Linked DNA regions of Homo sapiens: regions 1, 2, 3 and 5 are each linked to region 4. Evidence: promoter capture Hi-C in 16 types of primary human blood cells and fetal thymus (Javierre and others, 2016). All regions are on one chromosome and are shown on one strand. Each heading gives the region's core, a stretch centred on a gene start or on the middle of the fragment in contact. The rest is flanking DNA. Distances are from core to core; before and after follow the strand shown.

Region 1 (3,332 bases), core at 358-2,857, 150 kb before region 4:
ATTTTTAATGCCGGCTGAAGAACATAAAAGCTAGATCTTTTAACCTAAGATTTACCACAAGCAGATTATAAACCACTTAAATACAGTCATGCTTCACTGAACGTCAGGCATATGTGCTGGGAAATGCATGGTTAGGTGATTTTTGCCTTGCCAACATTATAGGGTGTACTTACACAAATCTAGATGGTATAGCCTACTAAATGCCTAGGCTATATGGTGTACATTACAGTAACATGCTATACAGGTTTGTAGCCTAGGAGCAATAGGCTGCTGCATGTTACTGAGTACTGCAGGCAACTATAATACAATGGTAAGTATTTGTGTATCTAAGCATACCTAAACATAGAAAGGATACAATAAAAATATGTACTATAATCTTGTGGGACCATCTCTTCTACGCAGTCCTTGGTCTTTATACCTTTATATCTGCACTGCCACCAATACTGCGAATAACAAGCTGGCTACGAAAATCAGACTACCTCAGACTCAGCAAGTTATACACCCAAAAATCTCTCACGACTTTCAGTTTAAAAATATATCTACAAATATAGACAGGAAGATGGGGAGAGACAGCGTGAGTGCCAGTGCCAGGCACTAACCATGTGAAGAAAGATGAATAAGCTGTGGCTTACAGAAGTAAAAACTAATTTGGGAAAAGAATTCAACATTCAAATGCCTGGTGTGTTTCTTCATCCCTAGGAACAAATAGTAACTAATGGCAAGACCCTAAAGTACAGGATAGGCAGTATGGAGCCCGAGGATTCCAAATACTCTCCAAGAAACAACATCGCTCATTTCTTGAAGCCTGGGGCTGCTCTGCAAAGGTAACAAGGCAAAGATGTTCGAAGACTTAATTATATTAATATATCGTTCAGGATACTTATGGATTATTTGGAGCAATGGAAACTATGTAAATCAAAGCATTACCATACCGTTAATTACATAGGTTTATAAGGTGAGTTTATATTTTGGGATTCTCTGGTAGTGATATTTTACAATATAATTATACATACAGTTTGTATAGTCTGATGAGTTTCCTCACTGAGGGTGAACTGCTGCGAAATGTTTTATGATTCGTTTATTGCTAGTCACGTTGTTCAAACAACACGTCTATAAGTAACGTTCCCTTTGAACTGTACTGTTACTAGACTGTCCTGTGTTGTACCATCGAAAACCATCGTCCAACATGCTCTTTTCCCAGGAATGGCCTGAAGCACACGAGTGGAACACTGCATAGAACTTTTATATAATAAAAGTACTGAACGTCTCCGGCCCTTAATATCCAGAGCACCCACCCTTGGTAAATGACAAAGGCAATAACCAATCGCCAGGCAGAATCCTAGTGACTTAGCCAATAAGAACATGAGGGTGGGGCTAGACTAAGCTCCCGGTGACTTCCCCGCACCCCAGAGACCCAGGTTGTGGGAGGCTGGACGGGAATTGGACTCCGAGGATTTCGTTACCCCCGGTTGTAGCTGTTGTCCTCCTCATTCTCGCAATCGCTGCAGTGCTCATGGCCGTTCCCGTTCCCTTCCATCATCTGCGGCAGCGGAGGTGCCGGCGGCTTCACTGCTGTCTCACTCTCGTCCGCCATCTTGAGTTGCGAGAGCAGGGCTCCGCGCCCCACTACATGGGGGGTTCCTATTGGACAAGGGGAATTTGCGCTGCATTCTGGGTTTTGTAGTTTTTCTGGCGAAGCGAGCTGCCACTAGGAGCGACTCTTTCCCAGGAAACTGACTACAATACCCAGGAATCACGAGGGACGGCTCCGGTCGGATTAAGAGGCGGGGCCACTGATACCCGGAAGCCTAGGCATTCGGCCACGCTTTGAGGAAAGAAGGGGCGCAAGGTTGGTGGGACCGACCCTTGGGAACCGGGCGGCCGCCTGGCATGATGGGAGTTGTAGTTCGATGCTGGTTTAGGGTTTCAGGCGTGGAGGTTCCAAAATCCGAGGTTTGATTTCAGCCTGCCCTTGCCAGTGCCTGGGCCGCTGGGAGCCGTTATTGGCTGCCGTTAAGGACCGTTACGTTTCCCGGGTAAGTGAAAGGGCCTGAGGCCCGCGGGTGCTACCTGCCTGGAGCCGGAATGCCCCAGGCCTTCTTAGAGTGGGCTTTTCCGCAAGAAGCCTAGTTGACTCCTGGCCGCCTTCCTCACTCGGGAGTCTGGGCAACCTGCGGTCATTGGCAGTTCAAGGTCTCATGAGAGGCAGTGGATTTTTTTGTGCGAAGCACTGACCCTAAGCCAGGAGACCACACTGCTAGGGAGGCAGGGCTCGCCGCCTCATCTTGGCCTCCAGGTACTTATCTTCGCCAAGCTCTTTCGCGCACACGTGGTCCCTTTAATTCCCCACAAGAATTTTCCACAACGACCCTTTTTTTCTTTTCTTTTCTTTCTTTCTTTCTTTTTTCTTTTTTAAATACGGCCGCCTTCTGTCGCCCAGGCTGGAGCGCAATGGCTCAAGATCACAGCTCACTGCAATCAAGGTATCCTCCCACCTCAGCCTCCCAAGTACCTAGGACTATAGGCATGAGCCACCACACCCGGATAATTTATATATTTTTTGTAGAGACGAGGGTCTCGCCTTGTTGCCCAGGCTGGTCTCGAACTCCTGGCCTCTAAGGATCTTCCTACCCCAACCCCGCAAAGTGCTGGGATTACAGACGTGAGCCACGGCACCCAGCCCACATCAACTCTTTCTTTAATAAGTGCCAGACTCTGTAGTAAGGCATTTCGTACATTATCTCATTTAATCCTCTCAACAAGTCTACAATATAGGTCCTATTATTATTATTCAACCTTTGTTTTGTTTTGTTTTGTTTTGAGACGGAGTCTCTCTCTGACTCCCAGGCTGGAGTGCAGTGGTGCGATCTCGGCTCACTGCAACCTTCGCCTCCTGGGTTCAAGCGATTCTCTTGCCTCGGCCTCCTGAGTAGCTGGGATTAAAGGCGCACGCCACCACACCTGGCTAATTTTTGTATTTTTAGTAGAGACGGGGTTTCACCATGTTGGTCAGGCTGGTCTCGAACTCCTGACCTCGTGATCTGCCCATTTCGGCCTCCCAAAGTGCTGGGATTAGAGGTGTGAGCCACCGTACCTGGCCATATTGACCTTTTTGACAGATGAAAAAATGTGGCCCTGAGAGGTTGGTAAATTGCACAGTCACATAGCTGGTTAAGTGGCAAATCGGTATACAAATCCAGATCTGTGTGCCCCAGGCCCTCTGAATTCTTTGCCACCATAAAAGTCCCATTTTCTGATACACTATTCACTCAAGGAAATCAGTTACTAAAAGGTAACTGTGACTCCAGTGCGTATTCTATATCAGGGGAAAA
Region 2 (3,147 bases), core at 402-2,901, 210 kb before region 4:
TGCACAGCTAAGGTTGAGAAACCCTGACCTGCGAGGCCTCTGCCCTGCGAGGCCTCTGTCCTGAACTCTGGACAGATGGGGCAGAGCTGGGGATAGAATTCACTTAGTCCCCCCATCTGTCCGTCTACCTGTCTGCCCCTTCAGTCAACACTAGCTGGTATCCTGGCTCTGGGATGAGCACTGTGGTGAGGAGATAAGACCTCATTCCGCCCTCAGATTTATTAAAGTATATAGGTGGGTTTTGTGTTTTATTTTAATTAAAGCAAAAAGTGCTGTTAGTGGTCAGAGAGGGAGAATGTCCACTTGAGGACAAATCAAGGAAGGGTTCCTGGAGGAGGTGATATCTGAACTGGTCCTTCAAGGACTCAGATAGGAGGAAGAGAAGGGAGAAGGATCCTACAAAAGGGTCCAAGAGAGGGTGAGAGGAGATGGTCCAGAGATATAGACTCAATTCCTTAGGTCAGAATTTGCAATTGGGCAAGCCAGGGCCTTGGGGTCACAAAGCCAAACCCAGTATTAGGGGCTTGTCGAAATAAAGGGAGGAAGAGAGGCCCTCTGTCTTACTTCTTTTGGCCCACACAGGGGTTATTGATTTTTATTTTTTTTCAATTTGATTTCGTTGTCAACATTAGAATATCTGGAGGCTTCACACACAGATCTATATTCGGTTCTCTGGAAACTCTGGGCCCTCATTCACTCCGGGCTGTGCCCCACCTCCAAAGGCCATGGACTCTCCGTTTACCCAGTTCCCACCTCCTCTATTGTCCTCTGACTCAAAAATCTTTGGTTGTGACTCTCGTTGAGGCATTGTAGAGCAGGGTGTGGCACTGTTTGGGCTGGGCATCACGTGTTCCAGGGGGCCAGAGCCAGGAGAGGGCCGAAACTCTCCGGGGCACAGTGTCGGTCACGCTGTAGAAACCTCTGAATTTTGGATTTTGCAGCAGGTATGATTGTGGTCTCCATTTTATGGATGGAGAACATGAGGCTTAGTGACAGGTTAGTGCCACTGGGGCCATGTATTAAATAACTGGGAAGTGACAGTGTTGAGACTTACTCCCCAGACTTCGGAATTTAGAAGCACTAGAAGAGCCGTGCAGTGCAGGGCCAAAGGTCAGAGGCGCTGGACCCCGACCTCCAGAGCCCAAAGTGGCTTCTACCAGTATGGAATTCTGACAACTTACTTAAGCTTCCCTGAGCCTCAGTTTCCTTGTCTATTAGTACATGAGCAGGGCCTGCACACAGGAGATGCTTTTATTTATTTATTTTTTAGAGACAGAGTCTCACTCTGTTGCCCAAGCTGGAGTGCAGTGGCGCAATCTTGGCTCACTGCAACCTCCGCCTCCCGGATTCAAGTGATTCTCATGCCTCAGCCTCCCATGCCTGGAGATCAGCTGGGCAGGGCTGATCCTGGAGTCCTTGGCCTGTGACCCTGGAGCCAGGGTGGCCTCTGCTGTCCTCCTTGTCTTTGGGAAAGCAGAGGCAAGGTGCTTGGGTTACAGCAAGAGAGATCTAGGTTAGATGGTGAGACCTTCCTGATGGCTACGGTTTCACATCAAGGGAAAAAGGCTGTTGGTGGCAAATTCTGGACTTGAAGGCTGGAAGCCATGTGGTGGGGGATAGTGGCAGAAAAGGCAATTTTTTTTTTTTTTTGTTAAGACGCAGTCTCACTCTGTCGCTTAGGCTGCAGTGCAGTGGCACAATCTTGGCTCATGGCAACCTCAGCCTCCTAAGTAGCTGGGATTACAGGCATGTGCCACCACACCCAGCTAATTTTGTATTTTTAGTAGAGGTGGGGTTGCACCATGTTGGCCAGGCTGGTCTCGAACTCCCGACCTCAAGTGATCCACCCACCTCGGCCTCCCAAGTGCTGAGATTATAGGCGTGAGCCACCGCGCCCTGCCAGAAAGGGCAACCTTTAGTGAGGCCTGAGTCCCAGGCATTGTCCGAGGGCAGTTCCACACTGAGGGACTGCAGAGGCCGCTGCTTGGAAGGAAGGAGGGAGATGGGGTACGGGTTGGGGGGCGTTTAGGGCTCCAAAGCCTAAAGCCAAACCCAGTGCAGGAGGCTTCTTACAATCGGGGAGGAGGGGAGTCCTGTGAGGGGGAGGGAAGCTTACTGTGGGATGAAGGCCTGGGTTTGGAGAGGCTGGAGGATGGGGCAGCAGGTCCTAGCGGGGGAGGGCAGGGGAGCCTCTGGGCAGGTACGGCCTGACGCCCCGGGTCCTCCCGCCCCGCCAGGCCTGACGGAGGACGAGGACGTGCGCGCCATGCTGCGGGGCTCCCGGCTCCGCAAGATCCGCTCGCGCACGTGGCACAAGGAGCGGCTGTACCGGCTGCAGGAGGACGGCCTGAGCGTGTGGTTCCAGCGGCGCATCCCGCGTGCGCCATCGCAGCACATCTGTGAGAGGCCGGGGAGCGCCGGGCGGACAGGGAGGTGGGGACAGGCCCGGTCCTCCGCCCTGACCCGGCCCTCCTCTCAGTCTTCGTGCAGCACATCGAGGCGGTCCGCGAGGGCCACCAGTCCGAGGGCCTGCGGCGCTTCGGGGGTGCCTTCGCGCCAGCGCGCTGCCTCACCATCGCCTTCAAGGGCCGCCGCAAGAACCTGGACCTGGCGGCGCCCACGGCTGAGGAAGCGCAGCGCTGGGTGCGCGGTCTGACCAAGCTCCGCGCGCGCCTGGACGCCATGAGCCAGCGCGAGCGGCTAGACCAATATCCTGCCGGGGCTGGGAGGGAGGGCCCCATCCTTGGAGAGCCCTAACCTTGGAGAGCCCCATCCTTGGAGAGCCCCCACGCCCAGGGAAGGCAGGGCCCTGTCCTGAGGGCGCACGGTCTGGGTCGGAGCCCTTGGTCTTCGAAACTGAGGGTGGGGACACGCGCCCTGGCTAGGCCCAAGCTCCCACCAGGAGGGGTGGCGCGGCGCCTCCTTCAGGGAGGCCTGAGGCCTTCTGAGGGTGAAGACAGGGCCTCCTGTCTTTGGTAAGCCCCAGTCCTGCGGAGGAGACACTGCTACCGTGCTCGGGGAGTGCACAGGCCAAGGGGAAAGTACAGCCCCTAAACTGGGGATCCCCCAGACCCAGGTGGGGGTGACTTACCAGCCAGTTACCTGAGGGCTGGGGGCAGCCTGGCGTGTTGCTGTTATTTCCTGAGC
Region 3 (3,373 bases), core at 847-3,346, 230 kb before region 4:
CTCAGTCCAGCTTTGAAGGCCCTGATTCAGTCCTACTGGTATAATCTCCCTTGATTTATTGATTTGTGTATGCTTCTTATGCAATACAAGGTGCATTTTACTCTTGAAGTCCCTATCACCTCCACCATCGCCATTTAACTGCAAAAGCATGCTTCCTAATGGGAGGGTTTTCTTCCCCCTTCCCTGCAGAGGTTCTGAACCTTCAAGGAGTTTGACAATCTTATGAATCTCTTGAACCTTCTCCCCAGAAAAATGTACATACAAGTCTACAAATAATTTCATGGGGTTCATGGACCCCAAGGCCCACAATGGTTTCTAAGGCCCCAAATTAAGGAACCTCTGTGCTAGTGATTTGAGCAACGCAATTGCCCTCAGAAGACACTGACACAGGGCAGGTGAAGGACTGGGTTAACCAAAATGACAGGAGGCAATCTCATAATTTCTGTTTTTATTTTGGGGCAAAATTTAGTTCTCAGGGCCTCCCTACGTTTAAGAGCAGAACTACTCAAGAACCTAAGCAGCTATCAGCATAGTTTAAGCGATTTAGAATAGGGCTGTGCAAGGGGATGTACAGGGTTCCTCATTCAGCTGAGGACCTCATTTAGCTCCTTAACTGGAAGCTTTACATTTGATCTGCAGTGAGGGGACATTTCTAATTTTAGTTTGACCCACATGGAAAGGTGGATAGCTTTTTTTTTTTGTTTTGGTATAGAGAGCACGTAGAATTGGACAATTAGGTAAATCCTTGGAATCCCCCAAACAGCCATTTGCTTTATAAATCCAGTATTTCTTACCTCTGAACGTCTTAAAGAGCTGCCTCACAAATTAATCTAACCATTGCTTGCACTAAGAAGTTTGCCAAGAGCCTCTTCCAGCCTTACTGGGGGGAAGGAAGAGATTACTGAAAACCAACTTGTAGGAATGAAATGAGGCTGTCAGTTGTCTAACCTAACAAACTGCCAAATTAGGTTTACATTTTTTGTTATTAGACTTTTGAATGGCCGAGGCAGAGTTAAATTTAAAATTTTGGATTGTAGCCACTTTCCACTCGCCTAAACACTCAATACCGGTTTGTTTATTTTTCCAGCATCAAGAAAGAAAACCAAGGCACTAGAAAGCAAGCACACTTAAGTATTGAAGATAATTACATCTTAAATTTTGCCTGAACTGTATATTGTAGCATACTTAAACCCATTCAAGGAAAAAATTGGCAAATTGAAAATTCTCCCATTAAAGATTGATATTTTTGCAAACTGACAAATTTAACGATTTCGGTACCCCTCCCCAAAAATGCAGTCACATAAAATATATCAATACTATTTTGAATTAGCTCTAGAAATCACACTGAAACTATGTTACATTTACAAATATTAAATTTATTATAACTAAAATGAATTTAATTGTTCTCAGATTTGGCCACCTTATAGCTCCGTTTAAGGAGGGGATTTGTTAAAAACAAAAATGCATTATAACTTGGTCAAATTACTTTCACATTAAGGAAAAAAACTTCTAAAAAGGAAAACAAGAAAAGCAACTCTTCAGTTTCACATAATTAAAAGAACAGGAGAAAGCACGCAAGCTACATATAGCTAAATTTACGAAACCAAAGCCAGGGGGATTTCTCTTCTGATTATGTGTCATAAAAAGGTCCACTGTCTTATATACACATGTATATAATGTTACATTCCATCACTGTAAAAAGTCCCCTTTGCCCCCTCCCCCAAAAAAGTTTCAGTCTAGTCTCCAAACTTGGAAAGCGGCGCTCGCTCCTGCTGCCGGTGCAGTTCGTTCTCGGTCAGCAGCTGGAGGTTCTCGGCGCGCAGCCGGTCCAGCTCCAGCTCCAGCTCCCGCACACGCGCGTCGTCGCCACCCAGCCGCTTGCTCTCCAGCCGCAGCCGGTTGTTCTCGTCCTCCATGCGCGAGAGGCACTTCTCCAGTTCCAGGTACTCCTTGATGAGCTCCTGCTTGCTCATGTTCTGCAGGCTCTCCGTGTGGTACCGCTCGTACGTCTCCGAGAAGTCCCGCTGCAGAAACTCGCTGCCGTCCCCTCCCATCCCATCGCTGCCCCCATCCTCCTCACCCCCTTCTTCCATGAAGTCGTCATCGCTGGTGTCGTCGGATTTGGCGGCGGCCCGCTTGGAGTACAGGCCGGTTTTGAGATCCGGCTCCTCCTGGTCGTGATCATCCATGAGGAACTGCGTGGTGTTATAGGGCGCGACCGGCTGGCCCTTGGCGAACATCTCGGCTCGGATCCTTGAAGCTCGAAGGCTCTGTTTCTCGTCGAACTTTTTCTTCTCTTCCCAGGTCAGCTTGTAGTACGGTTTCCAATGCCGCTTCTTCTTGGACGGGCGTCTCCTATGTTTTTTCTTCCCCAGCTGTCTCTGCTGCTGTCCCCACTCCTCTTCGCCCCCTGCGGCAGGAGCCCCCAACTTACTGGCCTCGGAGTCATGACAAGGCTGGGCGAGCAGCTCGGCCTCGGGCGTCGGTTCCACTTCTGCCGGCGGCGGGAAGTCGCCGCCAGCGGACGAGTCGTCCCCATTCTGGCCCTTCTCGCCCTCTCTCAGGCAGCTAGATTCTGGACAGGCCTGGGTCTGCAAGGGAGGTGGTTGGGATTCCAGGCTCCCTTCCCCCTCCGGCCCCGGACGGCCACCCAACTGGGGGAACGCTCTCGATTGCCACCTACTGTCCTCCTCGGGCACCCGCTCCTCCGCGCCTGGGGGGCGCTCAGGGTTCAGCTCTTCCTGGACAGCAGCAGCACCTGTACAGTTGCTAGTTTGAGGCTGGTGTTGATATTCTGACAAGAATGGCTCGGCCATGGCTAGTAGAGTCCTCGAAGTTTAAGAAATTTTGGCTAGTAAGTCCTTAAGGAAAAAAATGGGTTTTTCTTAAAAAAAAGAAAAAGAAAAAAAAAACAGTCCAACAGAGTCCTCTTCAGTTTGTAATTCCTGCAGTGACGCCTTTAGCTAGTCCTTCTATCAGCAAACTCCAACTGCAATCTGGGGAGCTCAAGTCAGTAAAGGGTTAAGCGCCCACAGTGCGGCCAGCTAGCGGGTCCAAGGGGGTGCAGCGGCAGGAACAGTACGTAATGGGCGGAGGTGGGCCTCAAACCTCCAAGCGGAGCACCCCAATAAAGGAGTTGGTGAGCAAGGTGATGAGGGTAAGTCCAGTGCGTGAAACCCAGCCCCGAAGGGGTTAAAACTACCGATGACGCTGCCTCCGAGGGGCCAGATCCACAAAGGGTTAAATCCCCTGCCGCAGAGCCCACAAGGGGTTAAAGTCCCGGCGCCACCTCCTCCCACTTCCACGGGTGTCGCTTCCACCCAAGCTCCCAGTTCCCTAGGCCCGGCCGTAGCCTCAGCAGAGGACAGACAAA
Region 4 (3,132 bases), core at 633-3,132:
GTGAGGGGATCACTTAAGGCTGGGAGGTTGAGGCTGCAGTGAGTCGTGGTTGCGCCACTGCACTCCAGCCTGGGCAACAGTGAGACCCTGTCTCAAAAGACAAAAAAAAAAAAAAAAAAAAAAAGAACATATCCTGGTGTGGAGTAGGGGACGCTGCTCTGACAGAGGCTCGGGGGCCTGAGCTGGCTCTGTGAGCTGGGGAGGAGGCAGACAGCCAGGCCTTGTCTGCAAGCAGACCTGGCAGCATTGGGCTGGCCGCCCCCCAGGGCCTCCTCTTCATGCCCAGTGAATGACTCACCTTGGCACAGACACAATGTTCGGGGTGGGCACAGTGCCTGCTTCCCGCCGCACCCCAGCCCCCCTCAAATGCCTTCCGAGAAGCCCATTGAGCAGGGGGCTTGCATTGCACCCCAGCCTGACAGCCTGGCATCTTGGGATAAAAGCAGCACAGCCCCCTAGGGGCTGCCCTTGCTGTGTGGCGCCACCGGCGGTGGAGAACAAGGCTCTATTCAGCCTGTGCCCAGGAAAGGGGATCAGGGGATGCCCAGGCATGGACAGTGGGTGGCAGGGGGGGAGAGGAGGGCTGTCTGCTTCCCAGAAGTCCAAGGACACAAATGGGTGAGGGGACTGGGCAGGGTTCTGACCCTGTGGGACCAGAGTGGAGGGCGTAGATGGACCTGAAGTCTCCAGGGACAACAGGGCCCAGGTCTCAGGCTCCTAGTTGGGCCCAGTGGCTCCAGCGTTTCCAAACCCATCCATCCCCAGAGGTTCTTCCCATCTCTCCAGGCTGATGTGTGGGAACTCGAGGAAATAAATCTCCAGTGGGAGACGGAGGGGTGGCCAGGGAAACGGGGCGCTGCAGGAATAAAGACGAGCCAGCACAGCCAGCTCATGTGTAACGGCTTTGTGGAGCTGTCAAGGCCTGGTCTCTGGGAGAGAGGCACAGGGAGGCCAGACAAGGAAGGGGTGACCTGGAGGGACAGATCCAGGGGCTAAAGTCCTGATAAGGCAAGAGAGTGCCGGCCCCCTCTTGCCCTATCAGGACCTCCACTGCCACATAGAGGCCATGATTGACCCTTAGACAAAGGGCTGGTGTCCAATCCCAGCCCCCAGCCCCAGAACTCCAGGGAATGAATGGGCAGAGAGCAGGAATGTGGGACATCTGTGTTCAAGGGAAGGACTCCAGGAGTCTGCTGGGAATGAGGCCTAGTAGGAAATGAGGTGGCCCTTGAGGGTACAGAACAGGTTCATTCTTCGCCAAATTCCCAGCACCTTGCAGGCACTTACAGCTGAGTGAGATAATGCCTGGGTTATGAAATCAAAAAGTTGGAAAGCAGGTCAGAGGTCATCTGGTACAGCCCTTCCTTCCCTTTTTTTTTTTTTTTTTTGTGAGACAAGGTCTCTCTCTGTTGCCCAGGCTGGAGTGGCGCAAACACAGCTCACTGCAGCCTCAACCTACTGGGCTCAAGCAATCCTCCAGCCTCAGCCTCCCAAAGTGCTGGGATTACAAGCATGAGCCACCCCACTCAGCCCTTTCCTTCCTTTTTAATTGATGCATAATAATTGTAAGTATTCATCATGGTCCAACCAACCCTTTCTTGACCCACCTTCCTAGAGAGAGGGTCCTCTTGCTTCAGCGGTCAGGGCCCCAGACCCATGGTCTGGCTCCAGGTACCACCTGCCTCATGCAGGAGTTGGCGTGCCCAGGAAGCTCTGCCTCTGGGCACAGTGACCTCAGTGGGGTGAGGGGAGCTCTCCCCATAGCTGGGCTGCGGCCCAACCCCACCCCCTCAGGCTATGCCAGGGGGTGTTGCCAGGGGCACCCGGGCATCGCCAGTCTAGCCCACTCCTTCATAAAGCCCTCGCATCCCAGGAGCGAGCAGAGCCAGAGCAGGATGGAGAGGAGACGCATCACCTCCGCTGCTCGCCGCTCCTACGTCTCCTCAGGGGAGATGATGGTGGGGGGCCTGGCTCCTGGCCGCCGTCTGGGTCCTGGCACCCGCCTCTCCCTGGCTCGAATGCCCCCTCCACTCCCGACCCGGGTGGATTTCTCCCTGGCTGGGGCACTCAATGCTGGCTTCAAGGAGACCCGGGCCAGTGAGCGGGCAGAGATGATGGAGCTCAATGACCGCTTTGCCAGCTACATCGAGAAGGTTCGCTTCCTGGAACAGCAAAACAAGGCGCTGGCTGCTGAGCTGAACCAGCTGCGGGCCAAGGAGCCCACCAAGCTGGCAGACGTCTACCAGGCTGAGCTGCGAGAGCTGCGGCTGCGGCTCGATCAACTCACCGCCAACAGCGCCCGGCTGGAGGTTGAGAGGGACAATCTGGCACAGGACCTGGCCACTGTGAGGCAGAAGTGAGGAGGGGATGGGGAAGGGGGGCCTTGTGAGCAGAAGGGGCTGAATCCCCAAGAAGGAGTGCCCGAGAAGTCTCAGGGAGGGGCCGAACCTCCCTGCTCCCTGGGCCTCCCTACCTCTTGATGGGGCACTATCCTTGCCCCCCAACATGATGGGAGGGACCAGAAACAGGCCCAGGGCCCCGGGGATCTGATGCCCGCATGCCTTCTGCCAGGAGTCCAGGGTCCCCTCAGCACCTCCCTACTGGGGAAAGCAGTGCAGGAGCAGCGGGGCCCCTGTGTTTCATTCATGGCTGGGCTTTGTGACTGTGGGCAGCGAGCTCACCTATTCTGAGCCTGTGTCCATATAAAGGAGGAGTTGGAAGCGGAGAAGGTTGATGTCCATGAGGGAGATTGGATTCTGGGGTGAAGAAAGTGAGGGAAAGAGCAGGCAGGTCTGGGCGCAAAGCACAGGTGACTGCCTGCCACCAGCTTGTGACCCCCATCAAGTTACTTTGACTTGCACAGCTGTGAAGCGGTGGTCATAATAAAATTCATTTCAAAAGGTGGTTACCTGGGATCAGAGGAATCCCCAGGGGCATGGCGCTTCACTGAGCTGACAGGACATGCATGTGTGCCTTCAAGTGCAGGAGGACATGTGCGTGTGTGTGTGTGTGTGTGCAACAGTGAGTGTATGCTTGTGGATGCGCCTGTGTGAGCAGAAGCAGGTGCACCAACCCTGATAAGGCACCTTAGTAATGAGTTAAGGCAAAAGCCCACATCTGCTCATCCTCCAG
Region 5 (3,049 bases), core at 181-2,680, 140 kb after region 4:
CAGCTGTGGAGAGGAGGGGAGTGCTGAGCACTCGTCCGGGAAAACCAAATCGACAAGGGTAGGGGTTGCCTCGCCCAGGGCTCCACAAGACGGCGGGGCCGGGCGGACCTGGCTAGAGTCCCCGGTGCAGGTCTCCGCGATGTCGCACTCGTTCACGGCCTCTCGGCAGGACACACCCCGTGGTTCGTACTAGGGAAGAGACGCGCTCCTCGAGTCAGGCAGGATGGATGCCTCGGCCCTGCCCTCCCCAGGCCCCTCGCTCTCTGGACCCCCACATCCCCGGGCCCTCCAGCTCCCCAGGGCCCCGTTTCAGGCCTGTTCTTATTTCCCTGCTCCCACCACCTCTTGAACGCTCCCCACCTCGCTCCCAGCGCACTCAGCACCGCCCCCAAGCCCGCCCACCTTCCCGCCCCTCCTTGATTCTGGGCAGCCTTCCCTTCCCGCTCCTCGTAGCCCCGCCTTCAACATCCTTCAGCCCCGCCCCTTGCTCCCCATTGGCGCTGTCTTCGCATCAAGCCCTGCCCCAGAGGCCTTCGTCCCCGAAGGCTCCGCTTCCCTCCCTAGCTCCCACCCCTTATATGAAGGCCTCCAATCGCTCCTCCTGCGTCCTGGCCCCGCCTCCCGGCCGGTCCTGCTTACCTTGCAGCGGCGACAGCAGAGCCCGTCGCTGCACATGGCGTCGTGAGTCAGGGTGCATTTCTTGCAGCAGTTGCCACCTGCGCGGCTGCACTCCTGAGGGACGCGGGAGGAGGGGAAGGAGGCGGGCGAGCCCTAATCCTCCCACTCAGACGCTCCCTCGTGCCCACCCCCGCATCCCGGTTCCCCACCTGGCGCCCGCACCACCGCTCACCTGCACCGAGCCGCAGTCGCACTCCTCCCCTGCCTCCACGAAGCCGTTCCCGCACTCTGGGGGGTCCAGGAGCTGGACCGGGAGGACAGGTCGGGAGTCTGGCCCGGACCCCGCCCAGGGCCCGCTCCCATGCTCCCCGCCGCGGGGCTGGTACCTTGAGGGGCTTGTTGAAGAGGCAGCTGCCACCACCCTCCTGCAGAAACTGGTTGTACTCGTCGATGCTACAGCGCGAGAACTTGCGGGGCAGGTAGAACCTGGATAGGGCGAGGGGAGGTGCTGCTGGCTGCTCCCCTCCAACCCACCCTCACCCCTCTCAAGGCTGGGGAGGGGGTACACTGGGGGACTTCGTCACCATCGCGAGGAGGCGGAGGATCTGCCCCGGGATTGCACCAGAATCCTCCCGCCTGTCCCTGTCGCTCCCATCCCCTCCGCTGAACCTGGGGACTCGCAGCCGCGCTGGAGGGAAGGTGTCTCCATGCGAGGCTTGGGCGGCGCCCAGTGGCCACGATGCGCACTGCAGCCTGGCCGGTTTTGGTGTCCCAGCAGGGAAATCTGGGTCTCCCGGGGCAGTGTTTGCGGAAAACTGGGCTTCTTGGGATCCTGAGTGGTTCTGTGAGCTGGGCCTCTTGAGCCCCCTGGTCCAGACTGCCAAACAATGCTCGCTCTAAGACTCCCCTCGCCCAAGACCTTCCCCCGGTTTGTCCCCAAGAACTCACCCAGTGTCCTCCATGATGCAGCCCAGCCAGATGTCTGGACACTTGCAGTCCCCTGAGGGGTGAGCCAGGCGGATATGAGGGAGGCCAAGGACCACCCCTCCCACTGTCACCCTCCCGTTCCAGAGCTGCTGGGCGTGGGCCACACGGGGGCCTCTGGGGGAGGATACCTGCCGAGCTCCGGTGTTTGTTCCACATCATGCCCAGGTTCTGTCCCAGCGTCTGGGCAAGGGTCACGGCCATCGCCCCCATGTTGCCGTACTGGGGGTGGGGAAGATGGGGCACAGATGTCTACATCTTCCAACAGGCACGTCGTGCCCCTGAAGCCCCTTTCCCTCAGCCGCCACCCCAGCCATGTCCCCCCACTGCTCACCTCGTTCACACCCCCGCCGTGGGACAGGGAGCATATGCCCCCCACGTAGGCTGCCCCGCTGCTCGTGCTCTGGAAGGTCCTGCCCCTGGAAGGGAGTGCGCTGTCAGGATGGCCTCCTGCCCTCCCCTGTGGCTCCCCGGGTGGTGGTGGGGCCTTGGGGAGCCCCTCACACTAGAGTCCTTCCTCAGGAGGTGAGCCTGGCCCTTTACATCAGCCTTGGTGACCCCAGGCAAGACCCTTCCCCCCCTCCTTGGGTTCTTTTTTTTCTTTCTTTTTCTTTTTTCTTTTGAGACAGAGTTTCACTCTTGTGGTCCAGGTTGGAGTGCAGTGGCACCATCTCAGCTCACTGCAATCTCCACCTCCTGGGTTCAAACGATTCTCCTGCCTCAGCCTCCCGAGTAGCTGGGACTACAGGTGCACACCACCACGCCTGGCTAATTTTTGTATTTTGAGATGGGGTTTCACCATGTTGGCCAGGCTGGTCTTAAACTCGTAACCTGAAATGATCTACCCGCCTTGGCCTCCCAAAGTGCTGAGATTACAGGCATGAGCCACCACGCCTGGCCCCTCCTTGGGTTCTTTTGCCCATAAGGCAAAGGAGAGGCTCCCAGTAGACCATCTCTAGTTGCAAGGCCCTTTTATTAGATTTTTTTCCCTACTAGGGCACTGGGTCCCTGAGGAAGGGATGCTGGGACAGTTTGAAAGGGGAAAGACAGAACTAAGGGGAGGTGAGAGGCAGAAGAGGACCACCAGGGCTAAGACAAGGGCATCAACCTCAGATTCAGGGGATGATGCCCAGCTGTTGCATGTGGCTGGGGGTAGGTGGCAGGTGCAAGGTGAGCCCAGTCCCCAGACTCTGAGAGGAGCAGCCAGCACAGGGCAGGTGTTAAGTAATCCCAAGCACTGTAGCAACTAGCAGAGGCTGGCAGGAGGTGCAGGGTGGGGGACTCACGAGAAGAGGTGGGTGGCATCACTGGGCTCAGGCAGACCCTCCCGTCGGTAGACCATGAGCCGGGCCAGGGTCTCCAGGAGGTCATCCTGCACCTGGATCTTGTCCCCATCTGCCCATGTTTCCATGGCAACCAGGACGATGCGAGTGTTGAGCTGCTCCTT

What was found. Contacts are between HindIII fragments. The CHiCAGO score rates a contact against its expected background, and 5 or more counts as called.
Region 1: the fragment with the promoter of NMT1 here is called in contact with the fragment with the promoter of GFAP in region 4 in 1 of 17 cell types (endothelial precursors); the score reaches 5.1 in endothelial precursors.
Region 2: a contact is called between a fragment that was not itself captured here and the fragment with the promoter of GFAP in region 4, in 10 of 17 cell types (endothelial precursors, megakaryocytes, erythroblasts and 7 more). The highest score is 14.2, in endothelial precursors.
Region 3: a fragment that was not itself captured here is called in contact with the fragment with the promoter of GFAP in region 4 in 3 of 17 cell types (endothelial precursors, monocytes and megakaryocytes); the score reaches 6.9 in endothelial precursors.
Region 5: a contact is called between a fragment that was not itself captured here and the fragment with the promoter of GFAP in region 4, in 1 of 17 cell types (endothelial precursors). The highest score is 5.9, in endothelial precursors.

The regions. Positions count from the first base shown.
Region 1 is chr17:45,059,592-45,062,923 of GRCh38, reverse strand. It overlaps NMT1 (N-myristoyltransferase 1), which reads right to left and starts at 1,607. Exons shown (of 12, transcript NM_021079.5): 1 at 1,464-1,607. The coding sequence starts at 1,594. It also overlaps a transcript of DCAKD not described here. RefSeq lists enhancers at 1,167-1,246, 1,189-1,483, 1,337-1,696, 844-1,835, 1,797-1,976 and 1 more. The HindIII fragment of the contact is 9,198 bases long and covers 1-3,332 here.
Region 2 is chr17:45,120,463-45,123,609 of GRCh38, reverse strand. PLCD3 (phospholipase C delta 3) reads left to right here. Exons shown (of 15, transcript NM_133373.5): 2 at 2,238-2,399; 3 at 2,480-2,708. Among named protein-coding and RNA genes, the nearest start is that of MIR6784, 7.6 kb to the right of the region's middle. RefSeq lists an enhancer at 2,304-2,841. The HindIII fragment of the contact is 925 bases long and covers 1,189-2,113 here.
Region 3 is chr17:45,148,634-45,152,006 of GRCh38, reverse strand. It overlaps HEXIM1 (HEXIM P-TEFb complex subunit 1), which reads right to left. Exons shown (of 1, transcript NM_006460.3): 1 at 1-3,373. The coding sequence starts at 2,816. The coding sequence ends at 1,737. HEXIM2-AS1 (HEXIM2 antisense RNA 1) reads left to right here. Exons shown (of 3, transcript NR_186789.1): 3 at 1,088-2,345. Among named protein-coding and RNA genes, the nearest start is that of HEXIM1, 1.8 kb to the right of the region's middle. RefSeq lists enhancers at 2,144-2,203, 1,874-2,429, 2,834-2,943, 2,994-3,043, 3,094-3,143. The HindIII fragment of the contact is 2,947 bases long and covers 623-3,373 here.
Region 4 is chr17:44,914,250-44,917,381 of GRCh38, reverse strand. It overlaps GFAP (glial fibrillary acidic protein), which reads left to right and starts at 1,882. Exons shown (of 9, transcript NM_002055.5): 1 at 1,882-2,356. The coding sequence starts at 1,896. The HindIII fragment of the contact is 16,653 bases long and covers 1-3,132 here.
Region 5 is chr17:44,773,267-44,776,315 of GRCh38, reverse strand. ADAM11 (ADAM metallopeptidase domain 11) reads right to left here. Exons shown (of 27, transcript NM_002390.6): 11 at 2,889-3,049; 12 at 1,937-2,021; 13 at 1,734-1,824; 14 at 1,567-1,618; 15 at 1,005-1,104; 16 at 851-922; 17 at 640-732; 18 at 109-189. Among named protein-coding and RNA genes, the nearest start is that of ADAM11, 16 kb to the right of the region's middle. RefSeq lists an enhancer at 1-268 and a silencer at 106-425. The HindIII fragment of the contact is 6,017 bases long and covers 1-3,049 here.